7 separate regions of the Homo sapiens genome follow, and all the other regions are linked to region 5. The links are contacts of gene promoters, found by promoter capture Hi-C in blood cells and fetal thymus (Javierre and others, 2016). All regions are on one chromosome and are shown on one strand. Each heading gives the region's core, a stretch centred on a gene start or on the middle of the fragment in contact. The rest is flanking DNA. Distances are from core to core; before and after follow the strand shown.

Region 1 (2,700 bases), core at 46-2,545, 580 kb after region 5:
ATGAAAAATGTTGGGTATTTATCTAAAAGAAAAAGATTTAAAAAAAAAACACACTGTCTTGCTAATAGTTTTAAGTGTCCTTTGAATCAGCAACAGTATTGAATTTTATCAGATGTCTTTTAGACATGTGAGAAAATCTTTTTTCAAGGTAGTTTACTGACATCATGTATTATACATACAAACTGAACTATAAAATCTTCATATACCTCAGAAGACTCTCTTTGGCAGTGGTGGATTATTAATACACTGATGAGTTCTATTAATTAGAATTAAGAATTTCAGGAAGGGGCAATCTATATTTGTCAGTGAAAGAGTGATGCTGAAAGTTTTATTCACTGTGCTATCTCTGGTAGGTTTTGCTAAGCTGGGGCCACATTTCCATCCCCAGAATGAACTGACACCTTTCCCTATTTCTCTCTGTTTCACGAGAACTATTTGAACATTATCTTCTGAACTTTTGAAAGTATTCAGCGATAAATACATTCCAGTTACAAGCTTTTTGTGGGGTTGGAGTAGATAATAATGCTGGGATAGTTCTCTAAATTTTTTATTCAGGTGTTGAGACATTCACATTTCATATTTGTAAATTTTTATCATTTGCTGCTCCAAATATGCTATAAGCTAGAAAGGTAGAATTCTGCCCAGAAAAGAAAAAAGTAAATGGATTGTGACTAAGTGTCTAAGGAGCTCTTCTAAGAGCTTTATCGAATGAATTTTGCAATTTCTCTTCTGACTATTCAGACAGCATTTCTGCTTACCTTTCATTTCTTGGCTGTATTCTAAATAGGTGAAGTTTGCCGCAGAAACAACTTCATGTAATTTGATAATTCAAATTATGTTTTGGAGTTACATCAGACTCCCTAGTAATTTTTATCAATAACTCTAAAACATAAAATGTAAAAACTAACAACTCACTTTATTTACTTCAGCAATTTCTCGCCTCTCTTCACTAGCAAAACGAGGTGGGCCAGCCCGATCATCATTCTTTGAGCCATCTTCTTCCACATATGGAATAAGTTGCTGGGAATGATTAACAAAAATTAAAAGGCAAAAATATAATTCAAGTTTTCTAATCACTTGTATAGAGAATATATCAGATTAAGGTCAATTTTTATACTTTTATTTGTATAAAAATAATTTCAATTCAGGTGATGGCCTGAAATAAGAGCTTTAATAGTTGACCATTTCAATGCATTCTATGCATTACCCTTTCAGGTTTCTTTTGCAAAACAGCCTTTATAACATTGGTTGTCATGTACAACTAAACAATACTTCCAGCAGGAAGATGGGAGAAGTAAAAAATAAAATAAAATAAAATAAAAATTTAAAAAAACCCTACTCAATCAGCAAATATTTAATTATGAAACACTATAAAAGTAATGCCAAACAAGATGTGATTCCTGCCCCTAAGAGATTTGTAGTCTATTGAGATAGATAAAACAGGCTTTCCTTCATCTGCAATAAAAAGAAAAGAACTTCACGGATCTGTATTATATAATTGTCATTAACTTGCAATCTAAAACTTCAGAGTCTATGCAAACTTCTAGATGTCTTAAGTTTTCGCAGTTGTGAGAACTTTTTCTTTGTAGGAGAAACAAATTTATATAGCAATGAAACTTCTAGCAGAATCGTAATTAAGTATGCATGGTTAGTGATGGAATTTACCGCATAAGTGTGGCAGACTTCAGGAATCACCTAGCCTTTACCATCGTGTATTACCAATGCAAGAATAGGCTAAAGGTAAATGACTGGTAAAACTAGGATTCACCTGATAAAACTTCTTCAAATTCTTGGGATATATATAAACTCACCCATGTCTACATTCTCCTTTTCTTTCTTTCATCTGTCTCAATGCAGAGCTGTCCTTCCTCCTGAAGACGATTAGTCTCCATTCCTGTGCCCTGATTACTCTGCCCTCCTGTCTTCATTATTTATACACCTTTCTCTCAACCTCTCCCTACAGCTTTCTTCCTTTATTATTCAAACATGTTCCTATCTCTTCTATTTGGAGGGAAGCTCCTCTTCCTCCTGCAAACCTTCGATTCCATCTCTCCTTCCATCTACTGCTTTCCTCTCTTATTTTTTTCAAAGCTTCTTGAAAGACTGATATCCACTTGCCGGCTCCAGCTTCTTATTTCCTGTTTAATCTTCACCCGACTAGGATCAGACTTCACGCTGCTATCATTTCACTGAAGCTCTACTCAAATATACCAACAATTTTCATCTAGCAAAATCTACTGGACAGTTTTCATTCCTTATTTTCCCTGACTTCTCTGTAGCATCTGACGATGTAGGCCACATTTCTGATCTTTCTCCCACATCTCTGACCCCTTCTTTTTAGGCATTTTTGCAGTTTAATTTTTCTCTGGTCATCTCTTACCAGCTTCCTTTGGTGGCAGAGATATAATTTGTCAACAGGAAAGGGTGACTTATAGAAATATATGCCTAATTAACTAAATAGGTATGACCCAAGATTAAATTTAGAGAATATATTTTTAAAATATAGTGATTCCACTGGGCTAAATATAAAATCCAAATTAATAATAATAAAAATAATATTTTATCTGTAAAGTACTTCATGAAAACCACCTTAAAAGTATATGATACTATTAAAATTCCTACTAAAAATATCCCTGACTTAATTAAAAGGAGACACTGACAGCAATAAAAATTGCCATAGGAAAACATTTCTTCCTAACA
Region 2 (2,700 bases), core at 108-2,607, 600 kb after region 5:
CAGGAAAGGACTTACTTGCCACATGCCAAGTCTTCAGAAAACACCAGTTGTGACAAATAGCTCCTGCATTTCTTTCACTCTTTCCCAAGATCAAAGAGGTGATTGTGTGGTGAGTTGGGGTCTGGGCTGCCCCCACCTTTTCTCTCTCTTCCTAAGACTGGCCCTCTGAACAGAATAGTGCCTTCTCCTCCACTTCTTGGGCTCTGTCCCTGCCCTGCCAGGGATTGGCAGTCAATTCAAGGGGAAGTCAATGCTAAGCCATATTCTGTAATCTAGCTTTACCAATAATTAGGCTGCTATTTTACCTTCATCTCTCTCTGTACCGATTTCTCATCACATTTGATCTGAGAGGGTAAGAGAAAATATTATGACCTTTAAATCTCAATGTATGGTTTAATAGAAAAAGAAATAGAAAATGAAGACAAATTCACTTGTCTTCCTGAAATTCTGCTTTCATCATGTCAGTCTCTGCATATTTCCTTTGTAGGATTTCAGTGGTCTCCATAAAAAGGCTCAGTTCTCTGATTTTCAAAGCCTTCTATTGCTTACTTTCACTCTACTAGAGCAACCTTTTTTTTTTTTTTTTTTTTTTTGCTGTATTAAGGAGGTTGACAAATAACATTGGCAATGGTATTTGCCATCTTCATTTCCATCTTAGGTTCTTCTTCCTTAGCCATTTCTGTGCCATATGACTCCTGGTCATAGCTGATTGGATCAGGATGACCATCTGGCCCAAGGGCAACCAATTTCTAGGCTGGCCAGTGATGTGTAACCTGCTCTGGTACAAAAAGCTTTACCCAAGCAGGATTGAAGGTAATAACCTGGACCAATCAGATTGTCTTTCTTAGGACTTTGAATAGGGAAATAAAGAGTGAATTAGACAAAGGGAAAGGTGCCAGAGGAGAAGTGAACCCAAAGAGAAGCAGGATCTGGGAGAGAGGCTGGTGGCATTAGAAGAGAAGACTGGAGTGAAGTTGTTCTTCGGTAGCAGCCTAGTGTACCCTTTATTTAGTCAACTTTATTTGACCTTAGAGGGCATGCTTTCTTCACCAGCTGGTCACAATGTTGCACTTAAAATCTGGAATCCTGAACATCCCCTGGGGGCTTTGTGTGTTCTGCTCATGTCCTCTCTCCTCGGCTCTTGCATCTTTTCCACCTGTGCACTGTTCCTTCACAGCACTAATAATCTTTTGCAATTGTATTTTTATTTGCATATCTGTTTATTCAATAACTGCTTCTTCTAGTAGGCTGGGAGCAACCTATGGGGGCAAGGATTAGTGCATTTTTGTTCACTACTGTGTTCTTAGTATTTTGCTCAGTGCCTCGGCATGGTAGATTCTTAATATTCATTGAATGAATGAATGATAGTGAATTTTTCTCCCACTTCTGCTGATTTCCCTCTACCTTTCTCAAGTCCAGACTCAAGACCCTTTGCTTATTTCTCTGTCTCAGTGTTGCCTTCTTTGCTCTTTTAATTGCATTTATAGTTTAACCACTACAAGGTATTTATTATACTGCTGTTATTCCTTAACTGTTGTATGTATTCAAAGTTAATTTTTACATGAATGGAAGCAGGTATAGTGACTCTTTCCATGTACCCCTTTCTTCTCCAAAATGCCTAGCACAGTGCCAGACCTGTCATGAATATTTGATAAACGCTTGGTGGCCTATAACAAAGTCCCTTTCAGTGACTGAGCCAAAAGATGGAGGCTCAAGGTGCCATGAAATCCTGGAGACTTACTTTTTGAGGCTTGTACATTAGGAAAAAATGTCTTTAGAGGAAAAAACTGTGGTTTCTACCAACATTGTCCTAATGATCAAAAATGGAAGGTCCACAGATGCAGAGCTCTGGAATAAGCACTGGAGAATTTTTAAGGTCTATTTTCAAACATAGTTCTAATGTGTATTTCAATTAAAGCTTAAACACACAACTAGCACCTCCTTTGTTCTTTGAACGCTAATAATCAGATTCACAGGTTACCTTTGTATGAACAAAGTCATAAATGGTGAGTAAGCCTTGCTTATTCACTCAAAAACTAGACTTTAAGATTTATTAGCTTACATTTCCAAACTCAAAATTATTGTATTTATTTTCACTTTTGAGAGCTATTGTATCTTACCCCTATTTTATTTTTTGAGAGAAGGTCTTAGTCACCCAGGCTGGAGTGCAGTGGTACAGTCAGCTTAATGCAGCTTTGACTTCCCACTCAAGCAATCCTCCCACCTCAGCCTCCTGAGTAGCTGGGACCACAGGTGTCCACCACCACACTCAGGTAATTTTTTTATTTTTTATTTTTGTAGAGACAGAGGATTTTCACTATGTTGCCCAGATGGGCCCTGAATTCCATGGCCTCAAGCAATTCTCCCACTTTGGCCTCCCAAAGTGCTGGGATTACTGGGATAAGCCACCATGCCAGACCCCTTAATTTTTTTTAAATTATTGTTTCATCTCACTCTACTTCCAGATTATAAAAATCTTTGAAAGTAGGTACCATATCTTCTTTTTAAAACACAAGTAGCATTTATTATCTTAATGTTTTATTTCTTGTTAAGGTAAAATTCATATACGATAAAACTGCACATATTTAAAGTGAACGATTTGATAAGTTTTGACATATATTTACACTAAAAATCTATTACCACAACTAAGGTACCAAATGTTTCCATCACCTCCAAAAGTTCCTCCGTGTCACTTACACT
Region 3 (2,700 bases), core at 76-2,575, 660 kb after region 5:
CCAATTTATGATAAGAAGAGGATAGGTTTGATACCAGATACTCAGCCATGACCAGAACCAAAGACCTCACCACTATTCCTTATTTTTATAGTCATCACTTTCCAATGCCACTGTCTCATGTTTTTGTTCCTATTTCTTAACCTTTTCTCCATTCCTCATGAGACTTAAATGCTTACTCTCAAGAGCAAAAGCATTATTTTTCATGAATAGGGGAACTTAAACAAGATATTTAAGTTTCTTGATTCTTAGTTTATTCATCTAAGATTATGGTCAAATTTTATTAGGCAATATTTTTTTTTTTTTTTTTTTTTTTTTTTGAGACGGAGTCTCGCTCTGTCGCCCAGGCCGGACTGCGGACTGCAGTGGCGCAATCTCGGCTCACTGCAAGCTCCGCTTCCCGGGTTCACGCCATTCTCCTGCCTCAGCCTCCCGAGTAGCTGGGACTACAGGCGCCCGCCACCGCGCCCGGCTAATTTTTTTTGTATTTTTTTTTTAGTAGAGACGGGGTTTCACCTTGTTAGCCAGGATGGTCTCGATCTCCTGACCTCATGATCCACCCGCCTCGGCCTCCCAAAGTGCTGGGATTACAGGTGTGAGCCACCGCGCCCGGCCTAGGCAATATTTAATAGGCAATGTTACTTACAGTGTGTTCCACAGGCTACCTATACCAGAGGAATCTGGAGAGGTTTGTTAAAAATAGAGATCCTTTAAATCCTTCCAGATCTACTTAATCAGAATCCTGACTGAATTGACTCTGGGGATCTGCCTTTTTACCAAGTTGCACAGAGGACCCTTGTGTAAAGTTTGAAAACAGTGTGATAAGGCCATCATGAAGATTAAATGAGCCATATTCTATGAAGCACCTGAAATGTAAGTGCTTAATAAATACTGGTATTTATTATACTATTTTCTATTCCATATATTTTAGAAAGATATTTTAAATAAATATGCCAATATGTGAAATATTTTGATCCTATTCAGAGACTATAATTAGATACAGTACACACACACACACACACACACACACACACATCTATATATGTAGTGCTTCTACTAACTAAAATACCACATGATCCAGGCTTTTTTTGTTATTTATTAGAACACTCAATAAAAAAGAAGTATATTTGATGTGAAATATAGAACTTAAAATCTTTCAGTAATCAGGATCCATCAAAATATTTCAGCCTTGTAAAATATGTGGAAAGGTTACTATTTCTTTTTTTCCCCAGAACTCTAAAAAGGAAACTAAAATTCAATAGGAACATACACAGTGTGTTTAAAAAGGGAGCCAAATACATTGCTATTCTGACTTGTGGTTTATCAAAGTGAATTCTAGTAAAAGAAGAAAATATCAGCGATTTTAAAGAGTGTTACGAGGTTCCAAATCCATAGTTCCCCCCAAAGTTAATTGTCTTAATTGTTATAAGTGATTTAGAGGTTTTAAACATTAATTAAAGTAAAGTAAAAATGAATAACCCTGTAAGTAATATCCTCCTTGGCTTAATGACATGCAGAATCAATTGTGTACAGCATTTAACATGCATTTTTGGAAAATTGGCTTCCTTTTTAGAGATGGCAGCCAAGACATAGCTGCAAGGCAATCACCATCAATTACCAGGTTACTTCTGTTTTAGTTATAGTATAATTTTCACTGGAAATTAATTATATTGTTGGGGTTTTGGGGTGTTAATTAATCATCCATCTCCTGAGCCGAGCTCAAGTCTGAAATCTATGAGAAAATTGCTAGGAGTAAGATGAACAGGGATCAAAATACTAGAATTATTTGTAAATATAGATTGGGAAATTTACTGGGATCTATGGTCACCACTGGGCTTTCTGCTACCTTTATCCCTAGGCATAGCTGAAGAAGTTGGATCTGCCAAGTAGAATCACTTATCTAGAATTATTGCCTCACAAATGTTGAAGTCTATTAGTGGTGACTGAGAGAAACAGGCATGCAGACCAACATCTAGACAAAATACCTTGATTTCGATCTATGTGTCCTCACCTCAGGGATGCACAATTGGTGGGAGTATGAATAAAAAGAATGAGGTAGCAACTGAGTCATACATGTTTGGTTCCTTCACCAAATCTTAGGACATAAATTTTTACATTAGGGTGAAGGTAGAAAGTTGCAGTGCAGGATGCTTCCATTTATAATACTTTAGGGTCGAACTGGAAGCTCCTTTTAGGGTTGAGTACTGTATGTCCCTTTCTACCTCCCTCTTTCCCATATGTCTGCCCACTCTGCTGCCTAGTAAAATTCAAAACAATTAAGGGAATTTAATTGGATAACAACCAAATGCTACCATCAAAATACACAAATACTAACGTCTATGTTACATCTCGTATTTGGATAGATTTAAATATATTTCTAAAGCTCTTTCATAAATACTGTGTATTAACTACATATTGTATGTGTGGCCGAGATGCGAGTTGACCTTTGAGTTTCAAAGAAAGTTGGCTCAAACTCCTTCCTATGGACAGTGGCAGAGATAGTTCATGTGTGTATATATGATTGTGCAGTTGTGGGAGTGGTAATGGCAGTGATGTCTGCATCATCCTGGTCGTCTTTGGGGCTGAGATCTGGCTTCTGATCAAATAGGACAGTGTCTGAATTATCCTCTAATACCAAGTGTGCTGTCCTCATTCCATGATGTATATGTTGAACACAAACCCTTTCTTCCATTTCCTTCAAAA
Region 4 (2,700 bases), core at 81-2,580, 550 kb after region 5:
TTTAACCAGAAGTGTGAACAGTAATACTCTTAAAGGATAGTTATATGGATAAGAGTATGTGTGTCAGTGTATGTGAGGAGGAAAGCTAACCTTTATCTAACAAAGTATAAGTGGTCAATGCTATGAAACCAACACATAAAAAAAATAAGAATAAATACATTATAAAATTATGGAGATACATTCTGAAAGAAACAATTAAGAGAGCCAAAAGTTGTTGATAGTGTGAAATATAACCACCATTTTCTACTATAAACCTTTTACTGCTATTTGATTTTTCAACAATTTTGTGCATTACTTTGATAAAAATCAAAGTTGGTTTAAAAAATAAGAAGCATGGATAAATTTTTTTAAGAAGATATTGAATAGATCTGTGCAACTGATGACTGGTTCTTATCCAGAAAATAGAAGTCTGGGACAAATTAAAAAGTGAACTATGCTGTACTAAAATAAAAAGCTTCTGAAGATATTGCCTAAATATTCAATTATACTTATTGAATTTTTGGGGGAGAAGAGAATATGTTATCATTATCTTTTTACATTTGGAAATTCTTGAAGATCTTTGATTACATTCCTATGAACATCAAAGATTTATTAAACTGAATACTAACAAAGCAACTAAATTTTGAAGCTATTTCTGACATCGGAAGAAGTCCATACTTCACTGAGATGTTTTGGAGGATTCCTTTGGGTAGAAGCTTCCTCTGGTCCATTTAAGTGTTTGTAGACATCAACTTCTAGGAAAAATATCGAGAATATCAAGAGACAAGGTACCAAAGCCAAAGAGCTAGGTGTTGCTGCCATGTTTTGAGGATTTCTTTTTTTTGTTGTTGTATTTTTAATTGACACATAATAATTGTACATATTTATGGGGTACAGTGTGATGTTTTGATACATGCATAAAATGATCAAATTAGGGTAATTATCTTCTTGATAATTTCTAAGACGATCAGATAAAGAAGTTCAGGCACTGCAGCGTGAATTAACAGGAAGACTTCCTTCACCAAACATTGCCATCTATGCTACTTTTTCTTTTTTTGAGACAGACCTTACTCTGTTGCTCATGCTGGAGTGCAGTGGTGCAATCTCAGCTCACGGCAACTTCCACCTCCTAGATTCAAGTGATTCTCATGCCTCACCCTCCTGAGTAGCTGGGATTACAGGCATGAACCATCACACCCGGCTAATTTTGGTATGTTTAGTAGAGATGGGGTTCCCCATGTTGCCCAGGCTGGTCTCGACCTCCTGGCCTCAAGTGATCCACCCACCTCAGCCTCCCAAATTGCTGGGATTATACATGTGAGCCACTGCGCCCAGCCTATAAGTATAAGTGGTCAATGCTATTAAATCAATACATAAAAAATATAAGAATAAATACATTATAAAATTATGGAGGTATATTCTGAAAGAAGCAACTAAGAAAGCCAAAAGTTGTTGATAGTGGGAGATATAACTGCTGTTTTCTACTATAAACATTTTACTGCTATTTGTATTAAAATAAAAAGCATCTGAAGATATTGCCTAAATATTCAATTATACTTATTGAATTTTGGGGGGAGAAGAGAATATGTTATCATTATCTTTTTACACTTGGAAATGTAAAACGTAAAATGCTACTCTTGAGGAGCATAACCACTATGTTGTTAAGCAAGGTGCATATTTGCAACTGCTTAGCGGAATGACCAAATCCACAAACTCTTTCAGCATGAGTTGGAAACTGCTAAAATTAAAAAAACTTCCAAACTACCTAAACCTTTAACATTTTTTAAAGAAAGAAAAAATCAATCTCCTCGAACAAAGTTAAAGGTGAATTTGTGTCACTTTTGAAAAATGTTGACTCTTTTGTTGCAAAAATAATGTAACTGCAACTGTTGCCTTTACTGGCAGGAAAGCAGCAACACACATTCAATCTTGAAGGAGTAAACATAAAGGGCAGGTCATCCCTGCATCCTCGTTAGGCAAAGCTTGCTGACAGTGTCTTCACAGCTCTTTAAATAGATGGTGACATGCCATGGCCCCTTCTCTATCACTCGAACCTGTAATTCACCCCCAAGTTATAAAATGACAGAGCTGGTCAAAGAGCAAGGCTGATGGCAGCTCCCATTTGGTGCATTTTGTCATCTTTGCTGACTTCCAGAAAGCCACCTCCTCCACCTTCAGTACCTCTACTTTCTCCGAATGACCACTCAAGGTAGCCTCTGTAAGGTGAGATCAGCTGCGTCACACTCTCCAGAGTGTTAACAGAAAAGAAGGACAAGGAAATCAAAGCAGCAGTCTCTTTTGTTGACATTTCCAAACAGGGACATTTCAGTCTCCAAGGCATCTCACTGGGGAAAGAAGATACCAGTGCAACAGGACAGAGGTTGACAATGTTCTCCAGTTTCCAGATTTATACAGGACTGGTGAGGAACAGCTGCTGCCAGTGCTGAAATGACACATGAGCCCTGAGCACCAGCTGGACAGCATCTTCTTGCAGGGAACCTAGGGAAAGGCCTTTCTGCCTCTCCTTCATTGTGAACTTAGGCAGGCCCTGCTTCCCCCTTGTTTACTCCAGAGGCCCTGGTGAATGCCTTAGGCTGCTGTGAAACTTCAGAAGAGAAGAGCTCAAATAATTTAGGATGCTGATTCCTTCTTTATTGACAGATGGGTATTTTTTTTTTTTTTTTTTGAGATGGAGTCTTGCTCTGTCACCCGGGCTGGAGT
Region 5 (2,700 bases), core at 159-2,658:
TCCACACCCCGCTGGGGTTTTTGCAGCCTGAGGGAAGCCGGGAAGTGTCTGCTCCTAGCTCTCAGTCACTCCCATAATAAACAATCACTAAACAGCCGGCTGCCCTAGGCAACTGTCTAGCTTGCCCGAGCCCTGAGACTTTAGCTAGGCCAGAGGGTGGGAGGTGTTTTCTGTAAAGCAGTGTTCAGGATCTGAGGCCAGGGAGTTTGACTTTGACCAGAGATACTGTTTGGGAGCCTAGCACATCTTTGTGGACCTGGAGGATCTTTAGCGGGACTGCTCCTCGGTTACCTGAGTTATCTAATGAAGTTCTTCCACTGGGAGTGGCAGGAGCTTGGGCCAAGGAGTGGGAGGTCAGTGAGGGAAGGACCAACTATTTGGCACTAATTGTACATAAGGTAGTTTTCCTGATGCAAGTGTTCCTTCTATAGCTGGGACAGTTGGCAATTCTACCAGTCATATGTCCTTAAGAGATATCTTTAACACCACCACCACCACCACCACCACCAAGAGAATAACATCACTTTGAGGACTGGGGCAAGCTTAAATTAACTGGTTTCCCTGCAGCCATTAGAAAATTTATTTTTTCTCTGTGATTGGATCTCTTGGAAGCTTTCTTCATAATAGACAGAGGGGGCTCAGGCAAGGCGGCCTAAGTAGATAATGAGGATTTAGGATAGCCGTCTTACACTCTTAGCACAGAGGCAGGCATGAAGAATTGCAACAATTCCTCTTGATTGTAATAATTCCTCTTTATTGTTGGGCATTGGGGTGTTTCTTTGGTTTAAAAAAATGTGCTATGTAGAGGAGGAGTAAGGGGAGATTGTTTTAATGCTTAGCAGAAAATTGAAATACTGGGTCTCGGAGAGTGGAAGGAGGGCTGGGAGAGGCAGCTTTCGGATCGGCGGTCGCTTTCTATGAAGTCTTCCTTTCCTCCCTGCTTCCCTCCTTCAAAGCATCTTTCTCTAGGCGTTCCGGCAGGCAGCCCAGGAGGCCAGATTCTCCAGGGCGCCCGGGGCCGCGCGGCACGGGGCCCCTGCCGGTGCCTCCTTCCCCGGCCGCCGCGTTTCCGCAGGCGCCTCTGGTCCCCGGCACGGCGCAGGCCGAGATCCGGGCCTGGGCGCGCCGAGGGGCCGCGGGGCTCGCACCGGGCCGTCCCGCGCTCCACCTGCCCGGCAGCCCGCCGGCAGCTTGCAACCCGGGAGCCCCGGCTCCCTGCGCCCCCTACGCCCCCAACGCCGCGCCGGCGCCTCGGCCCGCGGCCGGGGGTTATGAATGGGCGCAGCGGAAGCACCGCCCCCCCCGGACGTGACGCTCGGCCAATGGCAGCGCGGGCTGCGTGGATGGATGAGGTCAGCGCTGTCGTGTCGGGAATGGAATGTGTAAGTGTAACATTCAGAACCGGGTAACATTCGGCGACCGAACGCGGCGGTCGGCAGCGTTCGCGCGGGGGCCTGCGAAGCGCTGCTCGGGGCCGGCACTGCCCGCGGGGAGGACGCGCCGCCGCCGCCACCCAGCGCCGCCGCCGCCGCCGCCTCCAGCCGGGCCGCCGCGCGTCCCGGGGGCCGGCCCCGCGAGCGCAGGAGTAAACACCGCCGGAGTCTTGGAGCCGCTGCAGAAGGGAATAAAGAGAGATGCAGGGATTTGTGAGGTTACGGCGCCCCAGCTGCAAGATGCACTAGCCGGCTGAACCCGGGATCGGCTGACTTGTTGGAACCGGAGTGCTCTGCACGGAGAGTGGTGGATGAGTTGAAGTTGCCTTCCCGGGGCTCATTTTCCACGCTGCCGAGAGGAATCCGAGAGGCAAGGCAATCACTTCGTCTTGCCATTGATTGGGTATCGGGAGCTTTTTTTTTCTCCCCTCTCTCTTTCTTTTCCTCCGTCTTGTTGCATGCAAGAAAATTACAGTCCGCTGCTCGCCCGCCCTGGGTGCGAGATATTCAGCCCCGCTCTCTCCCGTGCATTGTGCAACCCAAAGATGAAAGACCGAAGGGGAGAAAGTTAAAGAAATCGCCCACATGCGCTGGATCAGTCCACGGCTTGGGGAAAGGCATCCAGAGAAGGTGGGAGCGGAGAGTTTGAAGTCTTTACAGGCGGGAAGATGGCGGACTGGAGCTGAAAGTGTTGATTGGGAAACTTGGGTGATTCTTGTGTTTATTTACAATCCTCTTGACCCAGGCAGGACACATGCAGGCCAAAAAACGCTATTTCATCCTGCTCTCAGCTGGCTCTTGTCTCGCCCTTTTGTTTTATTTCGGAGGCTTGCAGTTTAGGGCATCGAGGAGCCACAGCCGGAGAGAAGAACACAGCGGTAGGAATGGCTTGCACCACCCCAGTCCGGATCATTTCTGGCCCCGCTTCCCGGACGCTCTGCGCCCCTTCGTTCCTTGGGATCAATTGGAAAACGAGGATTCCAGCGTGCACATTTCCCCCCGGCAGAAGCGAGATGCCAACTCCAGCATCTACAAAGGCAAGAAGTGCCGCATGGAGTCCTGCTTCGATTTCACCCTTTGCAAGAAAAACGGCTTCAAAGTCTACGTATACCCACAGCAAAAAGGGGAGAAAATCGCCGAAAGTTACCAAAACATTCTAGCGGCCATCGAGGGCTCCAGGTTCTACACCTCGGACCCCAGCCAGGCGTGCCTCTTTGTCCTGAGTCTGGATACTTTAGACAGAGACCAGTTGTCACCTCAGTATGTG
Region 6 (2,700 bases), core at 20-2,519, 620 kb after region 5:
CTATTTGTATAGTTTGCCTTTCTCATACTCTAATACTAGTCAGTAGTGAAGGCGGAGGGAACCTTAATTCTTTTGGTTTTTATATTCCTGTTTGATCTTTTAAAAATCTCATTCAAAAAGACTTGAAGATACAAAGCCGTTCTTTGGCAACAGGCAGTGTGGATGCACAATCATTTAAGTCTTGGGCCACAGATTGAAGTTCCTGCTCTGGAGCACAGGGGCCTCCACAGCCAGAACTGTGGAAGGTGCCTTAGCAGTAGGTGCTGGAATTGTGCTATCCCCCATCACAAGCCTGGGGTGGGAGGAGAATTTCTATAGCAGCAGTTTCTTCTAGATGATGAGACTTATAGCCAGGTCCAACTTGGAAATCTGGAATGGGTCTGTGTGTGTCATTGCTGGGAGTTCCAGCCTGCTCCCCTGAGATTTTGGTACGGTGGGGCCCTCTACTCTACCCACAGGCAGAAATAAAGCATTAAGACAGCCTGGACCAGCAGCCTGAGCCATTCTACCCTTCATGGACATAGATTGTGGTGCAGTAGGGCCCTCTCTGCTTTACACACAGGCAGATCTCCAGGCATTTGGAGCAACCACTCACATGGGTTAGCAGATTGGGTTTCCCTACCCTTCCTGTGCAGAAATCCTATGCACAAAAAATAATTACAAAAATTAGTGCCAGCATCTCCAGAGGAGAAGGTACCAGAGCAAGAATTCAGGCACCATGAAAAATCTGAATGCAGGGACATCACCACCAAAGGATTGCACTAACTCTCCAGCAATGGTTCCTAACCAAAATAGAAGCTCAGAAATAACAGGTAAACAAGACAAGCATGGATTGAAAGAATGCTCAACAAGATCAAGGAAAATGTTGAAAATCCACACAAAGAAGCTTCTAAAACAATCCAGGAAATGAAGGAAGAGATAAACATCTTAAAAAGAACTCAATCAGAGCTTCTGGAATTGAAAATCTCACTTAAAGGACTTGAAAATACAAAGAAAGCTTTATCAATAAACTGGAACAAGCAGAAAAAGAATTTCAGAGCTTGAAAACTGATCTTTTGAACTAACCCAGTCAGAAAAAAATAAAGAAAAAACAAATTTTAAAAAATGAGTAAAGTCTTTGAGAAATATGGGAGTATGTAAAGTGACCAAACCTTCAAATGCTGGCATTTCTGAGAGAAATGAAGAGAAATAAAACAACCTGGAAAATATATTTAATAAAATAATTCAAGAAAATTGCTCTAATCTTGCTAGAGGGAGACATCTGGATATGAGAAATCTAGAGAACTCCTGTGAGATACTATAAAAAATGAACATCATTAAGGCATATAGTCACCAAACTGTCCAAGATCAAAACTAAGAAAAAATCTTAAAGGCAGCTAGAGAAAAAGGTCACATTATGTACAAAGGGAACCCCATTAGGCTTACAGCAGACTTCTTAGCAGAAACCTTATAAGCCAAGAGAGACTGGAGGCCTTTTTTAAGCATTTTTTAAAAAAAGAAATTCCAACCAAGAATTTCAAATCCTGCCACACTAAGCTTCATAACTGAAGGGAAAATAAAATGTTCTCCAAACAACCAAACACTAAGGGAGTTGGCTACCACTTGGCCAACCTTGCAAGAGATCTTTAAGGGTTTCTAAACATGGAAGTGAAAGAACAATACCTCCTACCACAAAAACACACCTAAGTACAGAGCTCATAGACACTATAAAGCAACCACAATAGAAACTGCAAAGCAACCAGCTAACAACTTCATGATAGCATCAAAATTTCACATATAAATGTAAACCTTGAATGTAAGTGATCTAACTGACCTACTTAAAAGGCACAGAGTGGCAAGTTGGATATAAAAAAAGCAAAAACAAAGTCCATTTGTCTGCCACCTTCAAGAAACCCATCTTACGTATAATGACACCTATAGACACAAAGTAAAGGGTGAGAGAAATATAGACAGAGCAATTAGGCAAGAGAAAGAAGTAAGTGCCATCCAAATAGGTTGAGAGGAAGTTAAACTATCCCTGTTTTCACATGACATGATTCTATATCTAGAAATCCCCATAGTCTTGACCCAAAAGCTCCTTTAGCTGATAAAAAATTTCAGCAAAATTTCAGGATAAAAAATTCAATATACAAAAATCAGTAGCATTTCTCTACACCAAAAGCAGCCAAGCTGAGAGCCAGATCAGGAACACAATCCCATTCACAATTGCCACAAAAAGAATAAAATGCCTAGGAATACAGCTAACCAGGGAAGTGAAAGATCTCTACAATGAGAACTACAAAACCCTGCTCAAAAAAATCAGAGAAGACACAAACGAATGGAAAAACATCCCATGCTCATGGATAAGAAGAGTCAATATCATTAAAACAGCCATATTTCCCAAAGCAATTTACAGATTCAATGCTATTCCTATCAAACTAACAATGACATTCTTCATAGAATTAGAAAAAATTATTTAAAAATTCATATGGAACCGAAAAAGAGCCCAAATAGCCAAGGCAATCCTAAACAAAAAGAACAAAGCTGGAGGCATTACATTACCCAACTTTAAAATCTACTACAGCTACAGTAACCAAAACATCATGGTACTGGTACAAAAACAGGCATATAAACCAATGGAAGAGAATAGAGAGCCCAGAAATAAGGCTGCACATCTATGACCATCTGATATTTGACAAAACTGACAAAAACCAGCAATGG
Region 7 (2,700 bases), core at 96-2,595, 570 kb after region 5:
TGTTAGCGCCATTCTCAGATATGCTCTTTTTCTTTTCCACGACCTGTTCAGAAAGACCTTTACAACCCTGAAGAAGCAGAAAATAAGATAAAGCGTTCTGTGAGAAAAGACTCTGAGAAAAAAAGCAAGATGCTGTTCATGTGTTCCAGGAAGCTATGATTCTTAACTGGTGTTGGTCATGTAGCCATAGTAGAAGGGCACATGTGGTGGTAGCGGTGGTGTGGACAGGAGTACTTAACATTTACCAAGTGCTTGTTATCAATCAGGTCCATGCTAAGTCTGCACAGATATGATTATCTTTTTTTGTTGTTGTTTTTAGGGCAAGGGTTTTGCTGATTGCTGGGAGGAGTTCAAGGTCTGAAGAGTCTAACTCTTTCAGAGACATTGAGATTTTAATACCACACATCTGTCAGTGTTATAACCATGTTTTTGACTTGTGTAGTAAGTTTATTGGTTAAAAACAAGGACTCTTTATTTTTTGTGGAGACGGAGGTCTCACTTATATTGCCCAGGCTGGTCCTGAACTCACGGGCTCAAAAAATCCTCCCACCTCAGCCTCCTTGGGATTACAGATGTGAGCTGCTGCACCTGAATAACTGGGGGGCTGAAGTGGGAGGTTTGCTTGAGCCTGGGAGGTTGAGGCTGTAGTGAGCCATGATTGTGCCACTGCACTCCAATCTGGGTGACAGAGCAAGACCTTGTCTCAAAAAAAGAAAAAAAAAAAAGGCACCAGTACTCTTGGAGCCAGACTGACTGAGATTTGAAGCCAGTTCAGCTACTTTCTAGCTGTGTGGCCTTGGGCAAGTGATTTAACCTCTCTGGGTTTATGTTTTCTGGTCTGTAAAATGGAAGGAATACTATAGTTTTTATTTTAGGAAGTTGTGTGGATTAAATGAGTTACTACATTTAGAACAGGGTCTGGCAGAAAAAAAAAATCTACCACCTTTGTTGATTCTCTATAACTTCTCCAGGGAAAAACATGTGCCTTGCTTTCAGTCTTCACCCTTTTTTCTATCATGTGCTTAAGGTTCCTGATCTGTAAAAAGGCAATAATGTAATATCTATCTCATATGATTGTTTTCATGATTTAGTGATATACTGTATATTACTACCTCTTCATAACAGGCTGTCAATCAGTGAGTTTGGACTACTCTTGATATCATAGTATAGAAGCTTATTCTAAGATTTTGCTTTATCTTTAATTTTATGGGTACCACAATGAAAGCATTCATATATAAATTTAATCATTAACATATAATTATTTTGACTTCAGAAGTATTATTTCTTGCATCAAATGTTGTTTTTAAAAAAGAAGTAACTGCTTGAGGCAATATAAAAAGTAGAAAGATTATTTCCTAATCTGTGGAACTTGCAAACTACAATGAATTCTGAATCAAGCAAGCTCAACCACTATAACTGGATATCTGTGAGTGTCATTGCATTGTGCTGGGTGGGGAAAGAGGGAGAATTAATCCCATTCCCAGGAGCTTTTCATTTACTTGGGCAGACAAAGCTTCACACACATGAAACTAAAACATTAGAGCAGAGGGCAGATGTGATGAATCCATGAGCCCTCAGAGTTCAGGGATGACAGAAATCAGTGTGGAAAGATCTCGGGGGCAGCAGTGGGCTTTGAGATGAATCTTGAAGGATGGTTCAGGATTTAGCCAGAAAGAACAAAGAGGGGACAGTAGGGTATGCAAGCTGAAGAAGAGGTCATGCCAAGGCTGGCTTTGTCCACACATGTGATTGAGGTGAGAGGTGAAGCATCCTGAAAGGCAGTTATTGCACTTGGCGTGTCCAAGGGAGATACACATTTATAAAACATATTTGAAATAAAGACTGACAGAAATTGGAGATGGATAAGACAAATGATAGAAGGAGACAGATAGGATCAAAATAGCTCTGGGCAGGGCAGGGAGTTAGGGCTTTGCTAAAAGAGAAAATGGCAGTGGTGATGCCATTTTCTAACTGAGTTGTTGAAATTCCACTGCTTTGATGAAAGCAGTTGGAGAAAATGCTGGCTTATGGGGAGGGGGAAATAAATGATTATGCATTTATTTTTTAAATCTTTAGTTTTTATCCAAGTAGGGATGATATCTGACATCTACAGATCCCCTTCCCTTTTCGTGGAGGCACAATGCTAGCTCCTTATCTCATTTCATCCTTGCAAATGATGGAGTTGTTTGCTAGGTAAGGCATTGGTAGATTTTTAAAGTATTTGGCTCTTGTAAATATAAATGTTCCTCAGAGCTGTTTAAAAATAAAACTCGTGTAAGAACATACTATTTGTCCCTTTTATAGAAGAGAAAATCAAGTCATAAGCAACTCGAAAATTCTGCTCAAAGGAACAGCTGGTAAGCGGCAGAGCTGGGATTCAGGCAGTTTGTCTCCAGGGTCCATATTCTCACCCTCTATTCAGGACTCAGCCATAGGAGAGGGTGAGAATGCCCTAAGATGGTATTGCCCTCCACCATCTGAAAGAAAAAGACCCTTCTCCCACCGACTCCTCTCCCTCTCCCCCACAAATACAGAAACAGTTGTAAACAAGCAAGAAAGGACACAAGACTGGTGCAAAACACTTGTTACAAAATCCTTTAAAGGTCAAGGAAAAAAATAATTCTCCAAACAGAGGCCAGTAGCTTTAGGAAACACCCCAAACTCTTTGACCTTACTAGGCCAATGGCTACAACATTGGAA

The links. Contacts are between HindIII fragments. The CHiCAGO score rates a contact against its expected background, and 5 or more counts as called.
Region 1: a fragment that was not itself captured here is called in contact with the fragment with the promoter of EXT1 in region 5 in 13 of 17 cell types (naive CD8 T cells, total CD8 T cells, naive CD4 T cells and 10 more); the score reaches 13.3 in naive CD8 T cells.
Region 2: a fragment that was not itself captured here is called in contact with the fragment with the promoter of EXT1 in region 5 in 10 of 17 cell types (naive CD8 T cells, total CD4 T cells, monocytes and 7 more); the score reaches 19.8 in naive CD8 T cells.
Region 3: a fragment that was not itself captured here is called in contact with the fragment with the promoter of EXT1 in region 5 in 7 of 17 cell types (naive CD8 T cells, total B cells, total CD4 T cells and 4 more); the score reaches 14.3 in naive CD8 T cells.
Region 4: a contact is called between a fragment that was not itself captured here and the fragment with the promoter of EXT1 in region 5, in 1 of 17 cell types (total B cells). The highest score is 5.4, in total B cells.
Region 6: a fragment that was not itself captured here is called in contact with the fragment with the promoter of EXT1 in region 5 in 8 of 17 cell types (total CD8 T cells, naive CD8 T cells, naive CD4 T cells and 5 more); the score reaches 8.0 in total CD8 T cells.
Region 7: a contact is called between a fragment that was not itself captured here and the fragment with the promoter of EXT1 in region 5, in 7 of 17 cell types (naive CD4 T cells, monocytes, naive B cells and 4 more). The highest score is 6.9, in naive CD4 T cells.

What each region holds. Positions count from the first base shown.
Region 1 is chr8:117,529,043-117,531,742 of GRCh38, reverse strand. MED30 (mediator complex subunit 30) reads right to left here. Exons shown (of 4, transcript NM_080651.4): 3 at 916-1,020. Among named protein-coding and RNA genes, the nearest start is that of MED30, 9.7 kb to the right of the region's middle. The HindIII fragment of the contact is 1,596 bases long and covers 498-2,093 here.
Region 2 is chr8:117,510,423-117,513,122 of GRCh38, reverse strand. The region is part of intron 2 of LOC105375716 (a long non-coding RNA gene); the gene reads left to right. Among named protein-coding and RNA genes, the nearest start is that of MED30, 8.9 kb to the left of the region's middle. The HindIII fragment of the contact is 1,127 bases long and covers 794-1,920 here.
Region 3 is chr8:117,449,328-117,452,027 of GRCh38, reverse strand. The region is part of intron 3 of LOC105375716 (a long non-coding RNA gene); the gene reads left to right. Among named protein-coding and RNA genes, the nearest start is that of MED30, 70 kb to the left of the region's middle. The HindIII fragment of the contact is 7,419 bases long and covers 1-2,700 here.
Region 4 is chr8:117,563,199-117,565,898 of GRCh38, reverse strand. No RefSeq gene overlaps it. Among named protein-coding and RNA genes, the nearest start is that of MED30, 44 kb to the right of the region's middle. The HindIII fragment of the contact is 1,266 bases long and covers 698-1,963 here.
Region 5 is chr8:118,110,534-118,113,233 of GRCh38, reverse strand. EXT1 (exostosin glycosyltransferase 1) reads left to right here and starts at 1,408. Exons shown (of 11, transcript NM_000127.3): 1 at 1,408-2,700. The coding sequence starts at 2,188. RefSeq lists silencers at 986-1,365, 1,466-1,555. The HindIII fragment of the contact is 5,337 bases long and covers 615-2,700 here.
Region 6 is chr8:117,494,141-117,496,840 of GRCh38, reverse strand. All of the region lies in intron 2 of LOC105375716 (a long non-coding RNA gene), which reads left to right. Among named protein-coding and RNA genes, the nearest start is that of MED30, 25 kb to the left of the region's middle. The HindIII fragment of the contact is 539 bases long and covers 1,000-1,538 here.
Region 7 is chr8:117,545,447-117,548,146 of GRCh38, reverse strand. No RefSeq gene overlaps it. Among named protein-coding and RNA genes, the nearest start is that of MED30, 26 kb to the right of the region's middle. The HindIII fragment of the contact is 340 bases long and covers 1,176-1,515 here.